Linked DNA regions of Homo sapiens: regions 1 and 2 are each linked to region 3. The links are contacts of gene promoters, found by promoter capture Hi-C in blood cells and fetal thymus (Javierre and others, 2016). All regions are on one chromosome and are shown on one strand. The core of a region is centred on a gene start or on the middle of the fragment in contact, and the rest is flanking DNA. Distances in the headings are between cores, read along the strand shown. Region 1 holds the start of RPS26 (ribosomal protein S26). Region 2 holds the start of PMEL (premelanosome protein). Region 3 overlaps ATP5F1B (ATP synthase F1 subunit beta).

Region 1 (3,652 bases), core at 1,153-3,652, 600 kb after region 3:
CTTTCTTCCCCATGAAAATAATGTGTGTCACTTCACACTTGGTCTAACACACAAAATCCCCACCTTATCTGGCACAGATACACTTAACATGCAATATTAAGTACAATTTCCATTTTATTTTTCTCCAGAGAATAGCCTGTCTTCAGTCTTTAAGAACTCAGCTCCTTACATGGGCTTTGGTGGGGGACGTGGGGCAGCACCCTGAAAGACAAAGAAACAAAAGAGTAAATTAAAACCCATGGATCCAAGACTCCCTTCCCCCAAAGAACTTGACCACCATCCTCTCACAAACTGATGTATTCAGGCTACAAATGCATGGGAAGCTGATAGAGGTGGAGGGAGAACACTACTCTGCATCCTAAAAACCAATTCTGATTCTAACACTGCTTTGCAGTGTCTCTAAGCATGTTCAGGTGTGGGTCTCACCTGCCTTACAGCTTAACCTGAGGCACAGACCTTAATTTGATACCCCCTGCACCACAGGAGGAAGCAACTTTTTTTTTTTTTTAAGAGACAAGGTCTCACTTTTGCCCTGGCTGGAGCGCAAGTGGTATAATCATAGCTCACTGCAACCTCAAACTCCTGGGCTCAAGTGATCCTCCTGCCTCAGCCTCTCGAGCAGCCAGACTATAGGTTCACACTATCATGCTTGGCTTCCTTCTCAATATTTTTTGAAGAGATGGGGTCTTGAACTGCTGGTTTCTAGCAATCTTCTTGTCCCAGCCTCCCAAAGTGTTGAGGTTACAGGTATAGGACACCCTGACCCTCCAGGATGAAATTTTAACCATCACTCCCCTGGCTTCCATTCTCCTTTTAAAATACTCACCGCAGGTCTAAATCGGGGTGGGGGTGTTCGGTCCTTGCGGGCTTCACGAGATCGATTCCTGACTACTTTGCTGTGAATTGCACAACTCACACAGTAATGTAGCTTCACATACAGCTTGGGAAGCACATAGGCTAAGGAATAGAAAATAGAGTTATACTGGTATTATATACCTACCTTGCTTTTTTGTTACATGAATGAAGAGCACCTTACATGTTTACGTCAATTAAAACTAAACCTATTTAAATGCCTGTCGGGCACATAAAAGCACCCCCAAAGCACCTGTTCAGCCCAATACCTGAGCACATATGTATAACCCTCAGTTTTACAAGTGAATTAACATCCCACGTGAGTTCATCTTGACACCGCAAGGACCAGACTGACATTCTAAATGCAATAAACCAATAATCCAGTTCCTTCTACACCTACACCCGCCCTAATGCCTACCCTGAACCTTGCTCTTTCTATAAAAGGAAAAAAACAAAGCGACGTTCTTATTGCTCCAAACATCATCCTTGCACACCAAACTAGACGGCCTCCATTCTCGAAACGTTGAAGACATTCTTCCTCACCTGTATATTTTCACAAATATTCAAATAATCAATAGCACAAGAATTGTCAAATTTACCAAGTTTCTAGTTTTTGCAATCTCATAACCGAAACAGGCAAACCTTTACCTCAGAGTAAAGGCTGTGCACTCTATCACAAAGTCACCCTCTGCCCAGAAAAGAATCAAAACGGCAAACAAGAGAATTCTCTTCTACCAGTAACAACCTTAAATACGTGGAAATTGCCTGAGAGGCTCCAAAGAACAGAGCCTCCAAAAGGGCGAAGTTGGGCGAAGGCTTTAAGATACTGGGATCCTCACACAGTTCGCGCCGGTGACCCACTTACCATCGAAGACGCTCGCTTCAGAAATGTCCCTGACTGCTGCGGCCTCCACTATGTTTCGAATGACGAATTTCTTAATGGCCTTGTCCTTGGGCACGCATCGGGCACAGTTAGTGCAGCGAATAGGCTGCACGTGGCCGCGGCCCTTTTTGGCACGACCATTGTTCCTTCTTTTCTTTGTCTGCGACAGGATGGGAAAACTGTTAGGAAAACGGCGCAACTCACCCAGCCTCAGTCCCTTTCCGGCCACAAGCCGCACCGGCAGCCTCCAGGAAGGCGCCGCTCGGATCTCCTGTTTCTCCGCAAATCCCGCCGACCCCCAGAGCAAATGAAATGTACACTCGGTCCACCCCTCAGCCGTGCTCCAGGCTCTCACTTCCCCACAATCCCAGAGTCTGCACCCGAACCCCCACCCTCACCACGCAAGAAGACTCACCATCTTGGAGGCACGGACCGGAGAGAGGAGACGGTGCCTGGCAGGGCCCTCCTATATAGCATGAGATCCCTACGCGGACACCGGGAGAATCCTTAGGAGACGGGCTTCAAGAACGGCAACTCACTTTACTCAAATATTCCTTTACATTCAGCATTTCTGCTGAAATCTAGGGTGGAAATGCGTTCCTAGTGTTTATTTATCCATGGAACAAAGTGCACATGGGACTATTTAGCCGGATGGCGGAAGAAAATCGAGGTTATGTGTCTCCCAGCAAGCCTTGCGCCGCGCCGACTCGGAAGCAATTCTGGACGATGCAGTTTTCCGGTATACGCGACGCTAGGCGTGAAAGTTGCCAGACGCTGGACCACAAGGCGCACTCGTTATTAGAGGCCAGAGAGGGACAGATGCTTGGTGGGAATTGTAGTGCGAAGCCAAGAGGCTCCCCCCTCCCCCCCTTCCCCCCTGCCCCAAGTGCTTAGACCGAAGGCGGCGCTGCGCCACCGGGGGACGCCCTGGGCTCATTTCTCTGACAGTCCTTCTACTAGGTAGGTGTAGGATTACGAAGAGGAAGGCCTGAGAGGAAACAAGCATTTTGTGAATCCCTCCTTCCAATATGGAGAAAATCCCACAATGAAGTGCATTGAGGCTGGGGCTATTTCTCATTCATCTTTTTATCTCTGGCACAGTGCCTGGCCCTGTGGTAAGCGTCTTTATAAATATTAACTCATTTAACTTTGAGCAAGCCTATAGGTAGCTACTATTATTATCCTCACTTTAAAGATTGAAGAATTTAGCCCGGCCTGGTGGTGGGCGCCTGTAATCCCAGGTACTCAGGAGGCTAAGACAGGAGAATCTTGAACCTGGGAGGCGGAGTTTCCAGTGAGCCGAGATCGCGCCACTGCACTCTAGCCTGGGTAAAAAGATCGAAACTCTGTCTCAAAAATAAATAAATCAATTAAAAAAAAAGATTGAAGAACTGACGTGCAGTAGGTATTCTGGCTCCGCTGTACTATGCTGTATGTCACCTAACAAATGGATGGAGGAATAGCCTGGACTAATGACTTAAACGTTTTTCACCCAGATTCATAGCACGAATACATTTTACATTGGTACCCAGTACACACACAAACACGATTACATGCACATGCAAAACTGAAACACAAGCTTTATGAAACGATACTTACCCTTGTCATAGGTGTGCTGGTATGTTCTATTCTTTATTTTTACTTAATCTTTCTGTTCTCTATTTTAATAAATGCTGATCAAAAACCACGAAAATTATTTCACCACTCATTAGTGAATCTGACCCCTAATTGAAAGATTATGTGTAAGCTCCATTTACCTCTGAAGAGCCATCGGAAAGACTTAAGCCTTAGGCTGGGTGCAGTGGCTCACGCCTGTAATCCCAACACTTTGGGAGGCCAAGGCAGGCGGATCACCTGAGGTCAGGAGTTCAAGACCAGCCTAGTCAACATAGTGACACCCCACCTCTACTAAAAATA
Region 2 (4,072 bases), core at 83-2,582, 670 kb after region 3:
ACATTTGGGGGCACGATCCGGCTCAGTTTGGGAAGAAAGTTTTCCATGGATTCCACACCACCCTATACTCTCCCCAGGGAGTATAAGTATACTCTTCACCTTCTACTGGCCCCCAACCCACCTCTCCACTTCTAAAGAAGTCCCTCCCTGCTCTCTTCCGGTCCCTGGACGGCTACCCGCCCGTGGGGGGTTGGGGGGGACAATCAAGGAGGTCCCCAGTTAGGAGTCCCGGGTACAGAGGCCACTCACGTGTCCAGGCGGATTTTCTTAAGCGCCACCACCTCTCCCGTCAACTTGTTTCTGGCTTTGTACACAACTCCGTACGTGCCCTCTCCGATCTTTTCCACCTTTTGGAAGTTCTCCATGAAGCGCCAGCGAGTCGGGTCAGCCCGGCCCTGGAGCGGGGGCCTGGGAACCCTGCAGAAGGCGGACCCTGGCTCTCGGGGGCCGAGGAGGGGGAAACAGGGCCCAGTACCGTGGCCCCGGGTCGGGATGGAACGCAGTATACCTCTCGCTCTTGTCAATTTGGCCAACTTGAAACAATGTTGCCGCCTCCCACCGAGTTCCCGACCGCCACCAGAGGCCCCGCCCCTGCTTCCCGCGTTTCCCTGGCTCCGCCCCCAGGCCTTTCTATTGGTCAACGTCAGAGCCGGGGGGCGAGCCCAGCGCTCCTCCCCGCAAATGATCCCGCCCCAGGCAAGTTTGGTTCTTGGGGGCTAGACAAGTTTCTTCCCCGGTGGGGCGGCTGAACACTCTTCCCAAGTACCTGCTTTGGGTCCAAGTTTCCTACCTATGTCTCTAGTCTGTAGGGATTTCTTGATTTCTAACTCACTATTTTCACCAATCCTGGGGAAAATATGTATCGACCTAAGGTTAAATTCCACCTGGCCCAGGAGCCTCCTTTGGAAACCAGGAAGCCGGGAATCTCGTTGCAAAGGAATCCTGGGCCTCAGAGGAGTCGTTGCCTCTGCCTCATAGCATACCCCGACACTGTCTCTGTTTTGGGATGCAGGGTTCTGTTTCTGTCTTTTTGAGAAGTTCCTGGTTTAATTCACTCTCCCATGATAAACTGTTGTGTCTGGTATGTGTTACGCAGCTGCCTTTCAGTTAGCTCTTGCCCGGGAGTGCATCAAGATGAGAGTGACCCAGTGAAACCAGAAACTGTCATTGAGTAGCAGGATGGGAAAGCAATGTCTAGGGACCAGGATCCCTTTGTCAGTTTTTCCTTTTTCCTCTCCTCCGGCCCCTCCCAGGCCTTCTCTGAGGGAGAAGAGGAAGGGCTATGCAAATGAGCACCCTTTTCTTATATAGGGGCCTATCCCAGTCCCCCCAGTGCCTTTGGTTGCTGGAGGGAAGAACACAATGGATCTGGTGCTAAAAAGATGCCTTCTTCATTTGGCTGTGATAGGTGCTTTGCTGGCTGTGGGGGCTACAAAAGGTATGTGTGGATATGTGGACATGAGCAGGTGTGAACTTGGGGATGAATTCCCCCTGCTCTGGTTTCTGTCCTCCTAATGGGAGATAGCGGCAATATTTCAGGCGTCTCCCACTCATTTGATTTAGTGAGGATGTGGGCACCTGGGCTCCCTCCCTACATGGAGATTTGGGATTTTGCCTGAAAATAATCTCATATGCTTGGAGGGGCAGAAGGATAGAAGGTCTCTGTGGCACTGATTCTGAGGCTTCCTTGGCAGTGAGCTGGAGCACGGGCTCCAAAGGGGTGAAATGTGCAGGAGACTCTTTTAGGAAACGTCTCTTGGGGTAGGAGATTTAAAGTGGGGAGTCAGAGAATGTGGTATTGGGTAAGAACACTAAGGAGATACAATCCTCTCCTCTTGGGATGGGTACGGGTGAACACAGCCCAGACCTTTTGTTCTGGGGCTGGAGAGATAGGCAGAGGGGTCTCAGCTGAGCATCACATGAAAGGGCTCTGGGGGATTGGGCCTCGTGACAGGAGCAAGGGGCGGGGGTGGGGTGGTGAGAGGGTCTGGAATGTCCCGTGCTGCTCTGAGGAGAGTTGGAAGTGGAGAAAGAATGGGGTATCTTATGACTTCTCTTGTTCTAGTGGTGGGATGCTCAATAGATGATTCCAGATCCTCCCCCAGCAGAATCAACTAGGGTTACAGCACACATTAGAAAGGGAATGAGGCCGGGCGCCGTGGCTCACGCCTGTAATCCCAGCACTTTGGGAGGCTGAAGCAGGTGGATCACGAGGTCAGGAGTTCGAGACCAGCCTGGCCAATATGGTGAAACCCCCGTCTCTACTAAAAGTACAAAAATTAGCTGGGCATGGTGGCACATGCCTGTAGTCCCAGCTACTCAGAAGGCTGAGGCTGGAGAATCACTTGAACCCAGAAGGCAGAGGTTGCAGTGAGCCAAGATCACACCAATGCACTCCAGCCTGGGTGACAGAGCGAGTCTCCGTCTCAAAAAAAAAAAAAAAAAGAAAGGGGATGAGGCCCGGCACAGTAACTCATGCCTGTAATCCTAGCACTTTGAGAGGCTGAGACGGGTGGATCACTTGAGGTCAGACCAGCCTGGCCAATATGGTGAAACTCCATCTCTACTAAAAATACAAAAATTAGCTGGGCATGGTGGTACGCACCTGTAATCCCAACTACTTGGGAGGCCGAGGCATGAGAATCGCTTGAACCTGGGAGGCAGAGGTTGCAGTGAGCCGAGATCACACCATTGCATTCCAGCCTGGGCAACAGCAAGACTCTGTCTCAAAAAAATAAAAAAAGAAAAGAAAAGAAAAGAGATAAGGAGGCCGGGTGTAGTGGCTCACACCTGTAATCCCAGCACTTTGGGAGGCCGTGGTCATAGGATTGCTTGAGCCCAGGAGTTCAAGACCAGCCTGAGCAACATAGTGAGACCTTGTCTCTACGAAACGTAAAAAAATTAGCCAGGCCTAGGCCAGGCTTGGTGGCTCACGCCTGTAATCCCAGCACTTTGCGAGACCAAGGCAGGTGGATCAGCTGAAGTTGGGAGTTTGAGACCAGCCTGACCAACATAGAGAAACCCAGTCTCTACTAAAAATACAAAATTAGCTGGGCGTGGTGGTGCATGCCTGTAATCCCAGCCACTCAGGAGGCTGAGGCAGGAGAATCGCTTGAACCCGGGAGGCGGAGGTTGTAGTAAGCTGAGATCGTGCCATTGTACTCCAGCCTTCCAGCCTGGGCAACAAGAGCGAAACTCTGTCTCAAAAAAAAAAAAAAAAAAAATTAGCCAGGCTTGGTGGTGAGCACCTGTGGTCCTAGCCACTTGGGAGGCTAATGAGGAAGATGGCTTCAGCCTAGGAGTTTGAGGCTGCAGTGAGTGATGAACGTGCCACTGCACGCAGGGTGAGAGAGCAAAACCCTGTATCAAAAGGAAAGGAAAGGGGAAAGGGAAAGGAAAGGGAAGGAAGTTTCTGCAGGAAAGGGAAAAATGGGGTGAGGGTAGTTTTTGCTGTGCTGAACTATATACAGAAAGGAGAGGAGAGGGGAGGGAAGGGGAGGGGAGAGAGGTTTCTGCAGGAAAGGGAAAAATGGGGTGAGGGTAGTTTCTGCTGTGCTGAAATACATACATTATATCCCAGCCCTGCTTTCTCCCTAGATGTTTAGTGTCACAGATTTCTAGGAAGTTCTCCTTGATGTGACTTTCCTCGCTGTGCTGCAGTTTCAAGTCTTTTTCTTTTACTATATTCCTTAATGTATCCTGGAAAGAGTCTGTTCACACCCACCCACCTAAGGCTCTTAACAAAAAGACTGTACTTATATTTTGGATCCTGATTTTAAAAATCATAAGACATTTTTCCAGATATTCATGAAATTTTATATGGACTGAGTTTGATAATTTTGTCTAGCATGAAATGACATTGTGCTTATGCAAGAAAATACTCATACATTTTAAATTTGTAGGGTTAAAATAACACGATGTCTGGGATTTGCTTTTACATACTTTAGCCAAAACAAAAACAAAAACAACAACTAGTAAGGATAAACAAAGCAAATGTGGCAAGGTGTTGATAGTTGTTGGACCTGGGTGGGGCAGATGGAGGTCCAGCATATCCTTTTCTTCTCAGACCTCT
Region 3 (3,810 bases), core at 815-3,314:
CTGGGATTACAGGTGCGCGCCACCATGCCTGGCTACTTTTTGTATTTTTAGTAGAGACCAGGTTTCATCAGTTGGTCAGGCTGGTCTCGATCTCCTGACCTCATGATCCACCCACCGTGGCCTCCCAAAGTGGTGGGATTACAGACGTGAGCCACTGCGCCCGGCGGAATGCAATATTTTTCTAACAGCACCAAACTAGGACTATGGAGAACAAGACACTGATCTTTCTTGGCTGAGGGCCCTCATAACACCACCACCTTCTCTGCCCCCTAGCATGTAACTTTCCCTTTGTTAGCTTGTCCAAATTAAAGGAATGAGAATACTTAACTCAGTCTTCTTTTTTCTCATAGGACTACAAATCCCTCCAGGATATCATTGCCATCCTGGGTATGGATGAACTTTCTGAGGAAGACAAGTTGACCGTGTCCCGTGCACGGAAAATACAGCGTTTCTTGTCTCAGCCATTCCAGGTTGCTGAGGTCTTCACAGGTCATATGGGGAAGCTGGTACCCCTGAAGGAGACCATCAAAGGATTCCAGCAGATTTTGGCAGGTGAGATTTTGAGTACAAATCTTGAATGTTTACTGTGCTGTGGTCCCATTCCAACAACCGTCAAGCAATATATGTAATATACTATGCTTAATTATATTTTTTAATTTAAAAAACAAACTTACCCATTGATTTTGTTTGAAAATACTCTACATTTAATTTGAGTGTGATTTGTTACTTGATTCTCTAGCTCCCTTTTATTTTATATGTATTTTTTGAGACTGAGTCTCTGTCGCCCAGGCTGGAGTACACTGGTGCAATCTTGGCTCACTGCAACCTCCACCTGCCGGGTTCAAGTGATTCTCCAGCCTCAACCATCCAAGTAGCTGGGATTACAGGCACACGCCACCACGCCTGGCTAATTTTTGTATTTTTAGTAGCCATGGGGTTTCACCATGTTGGCTGGGCTTGTCTCGAACTCCTGACCTTAGGTGATCCGCCTGCCTTGGCCTCCCAAAGTGCTGGGATTACAGGTGTAAGCCACCGTGCCTGGCCCATGTGTTCTTAATTCATACTGTATCATATCTTGTAAATTTGATTTGTGAGGGAAATTTAAGCTTTCTAAGATGACATGAATTCATCACATTCTAACTGATGGCCTGAAGTGGTGAGGAATGTTACATGATGCAGAAAGTTGATATCCCTCCGCTTCTTACTCTTTTTTTTTTTCTCCCCCATCATACAGGTGAATATGACCATCTCCCAGAACAGGCCTTCTATATGGTGGGACCCATTGAAGAAGCTGTGGCAAAAGCTGATAAGCTGGCTGAAGAGCATTCATCGTGAGGGGTCTTTGTCCTCTGTACTGTCTCTCTCCTTGCCCCTAACCCAAAAAGCTTCATTTTTCTGTGTAGGCTGCACAAGAGCCTTGATTGAAGATATATTCTTTCTGAACAGTATTTAAGGTTTCCAATAAAATGTACACCCCTCAGAATTTGTCTGATTCTCTTGGTTCTGACAACATAGTCAACACTGAAGGGTTATGTATTTAATTTTAGTTTTAGAGACACGGTGTCTGGCTGTGTTGCCAAGACTGGTCTCTAACTCCTGGGCTCGAGATCTCCCACCTCAGTCTCCTGAGTAGCTGGGGCTACAGGTGTATGTAGTCTCACATCACCAGCACTGTTTTCAACAATTAGATTTTTAGAGTGGCTATAAGAAGCAGTTTCAGCATGAAGTGGGCCATGTATGTTTGAAATTGGTCCTTAAAAATAGCCATTCTCTTTTGTTGATGGACAACCGTACCTCTTGTGAGGGGTTTCCTGTGGGTAGTGTGATCTTAGTAGGGCCTCAGTTTTGGGCCTTTTGTTCAATACAAATTGATTTTTTTTTTTTTTTGGCCTCTATTCCATGTGGCACATCCCTACTTCTTGGTTAAAAATAGGACTTTTTTGAAGGGCATATTGGGAAAAACTCGTTTTAGAAATAACTTATTTCCAGGGGTTAATCTGAGTTTAATGAATTAAATTTTCAAGAAATAGTGATGAAGAATACTGATCTTTGTTAAAATGGAATCAAAAGGGTTCTCTACATCTTGGTTAGGCCTTCATGTCTTCAGAAAGTGTACTTAACTACTTCCTGACATTTTGGGCAAGCCTAAATAAAAGTTGCTTGTGATTCCTTGAGGCTATGCAGAGGCATATAATACCATAAGGCCTAGTCCACCCTCTGTGAAGATCCCCTTATGAAAGTCCAGAAAAGATAATCTTACAAGGGAATAGCAATTTTCAGAGTTGCTGGCTTGGGCTTCTAAACTAATGAAGTTAGGTTATTTTCCCTTCATTTTAGCCGACTGAGAGGTGCAGGGGTAGAAGATATATTTTACCATTTCAATTTAAAAGAAGCGTGCAAGGTCAGATTGGGTTCCTCTTGTGTTCTTTTCCGGGACCAGACCCATCCGACTGCCCTCTCGCGGTAGCACTGGAGACTCTGCAAGAACTCTGATCCCATTTTCAAATCCATGAAGGCCATTTGCTGGGATGTGGCTCTCAGTTAAAGACTGTTTACAGACCAGCTGGGGCTTTTGTCCTGGGGAGGAGCCTGTATCTATAAGCTCCACCCGCTGAGTCCATCAAGTTAGGTAGAAGCTGGGCGGGGACAAGCTGAGCTCCAATTCAGAGGCCCCTGGGGGCTGAAGGTTGGGGAGGGCTTTTTGGCGCGGGGCCAGGGGTGGAGTAGGGGCCTCTAAGCTTCCTTCCATCTGCCTGTGACGTCCTTGGCAGCAGCCTCTCCCGCAGTCTCTCCTGTGTCATGATCTGGACAGAAGGTGGAGCCCCTGAGCTGCTTGTGCTGGTAGTTTGCTCCCAGAAAAGCTGGGATTTGGGGAAATGCTGAGTTATGGGGGTGTGGACACTTCCTCTAGGTCCTGACTCTGGAGTGGGTAAGAAGCTGGTAGAAAAAGCCCTAGGGTACAGGTCAGCCCTTTCTGCTTTGTTTTCTCACGTCACCCGATACAGACCTGGGAACTGAAATCCTAAAGGTCTTTTGCATCCCTCCACCCCTTCCCCCAACATGTTCACGTCCTTCAGCGTTTATCGAGAACCTTCTCCCTCTCAGTAGCTGCAACTATTTGTTTCCTTCCCCCTTTGCCGGCCTCTTCTACCATGCCACTGGAGTGTCAACACAGCTCTCTAACCTTCCTCCATATTTCTCCTGGTCTGCCCTGTCCTCGCCTCCTCCCTCTCTCCACCCAGAGAAAGCCCCGCCCTTCCCTCCTCCCTCCCCACCCCAGTCTGTCACACAGGGACATCACCCTACAGCAGTTCAGGCTGTGTGGTTCGCAGGAAGCATACACTGGCTTTTTGATTCTTGCTAGTTCCCAGCTCACAGTTTGGGAGGATCCAACACCAACCTTTACGTGAAGTGGAGGCCCAAGGACAGTGAGGAGCTGGGTGGTCCCAGCCTGGAGCTGTGCCAGCCTGACATGGGTGAGTATGGGGACCAGCCCCGGGGAAGGCCTGAGGGATGCCTACTCCCTCCCTGGCTGACTCAGCAGGGGTGGGGCCTAACCTTTGCTCATTTGGGGGCTGAAGGAGAGGAAACAGGACTCTGGGGGACGGGGGGCACAGGGCTCAGCTAGCGAGGCTGCCGACCACGGGATCCTGAGTATGGGCAAGCCCCAGTTCTAAGGAAGAGCCTGAGACGCATCTTAGGCCAGGGCTTTCCCAGCCCCCTCCCCGCCGCCCCGTGGAGGATTGCCCCTGCTCCTCCCCATTTAAGCTGTTGAGATTCAAGGAAATTTTGACAGTACTCACTGCTAGC

Evidence for each region. Contacts are between HindIII fragments. The CHiCAGO score rates a contact against its expected background, and 5 or more counts as called.
Region 1: a contact is called between the fragment with the promoter of RPS26 here and a fragment that was not itself captured in region 3, in 1 of 17 cell types (fetal thymus). The highest score is 5.3, in fetal thymus.
Region 2: the fragment with the promoter of PMEL here is called in contact with a fragment that was not itself captured in region 3 in 3 of 17 cell types (fetal thymus, naive B cells and naive CD8 T cells); the score reaches 6.2 in fetal thymus.

The regions. Positions count from the first base shown.
Region 1 is chr12:56,040,668-56,044,319 of GRCh38, reverse strand. RPS26 (ribosomal protein S26) reads right to left here and starts at 2,402. Exons shown (of 4, transcript NM_001029.5): 1 at 2,151-2,402; 2 at 1,718-1,895; 3 at 827-957; 4 at 1-201. The coding sequence starts at 2,153. The coding sequence ends at 166. RefSeq lists enhancers at 1,714-1,973, 2,114-2,443, 1,892-2,681 and a silencer at 2,594-2,653. The HindIII fragment of the contact is 3,314 bases long and covers 3-3,316 here.
Region 2 is chr12:55,963,302-55,967,373 of GRCh38, reverse strand. PMEL (premelanosome protein) reads left to right here and starts at 1,332. Exons shown (of 11, transcript NM_001384361.1): 1 at 1,332-1,438. The coding sequence starts at 1,363. It overlaps CDK2 (cyclin dependent kinase 2), which reads right to left and starts at 544. Exons shown (of 7, transcript NM_001798.5): 1 at 250-544. The coding sequence starts at 365. RefSeq lists an enhancer at 774-853. The HindIII fragment of the contact is 16,386 bases long and covers 1-4,072 here.
Region 3 is chr12:56,635,848-56,639,657 of GRCh38, reverse strand. It overlaps ATP5F1B (ATP synthase F1 subunit beta), which reads left to right. Exons shown (of 10, transcript NM_001686.4): 9 at 351-552; 10 at 1,235-1,483. The coding sequence ends at 1,335. It also overlaps a transcript of BAZ2A not described here. Among named protein-coding and RNA genes, the nearest start is that of SNORD59B, 6.0 kb to the left of the region's middle. RefSeq lists enhancers at 2,479-2,773, 2,266-2,777, 2,751-2,920, 3,804-3,810. The HindIII fragment of the contact is 1,353 bases long and covers 1,388-2,740 here.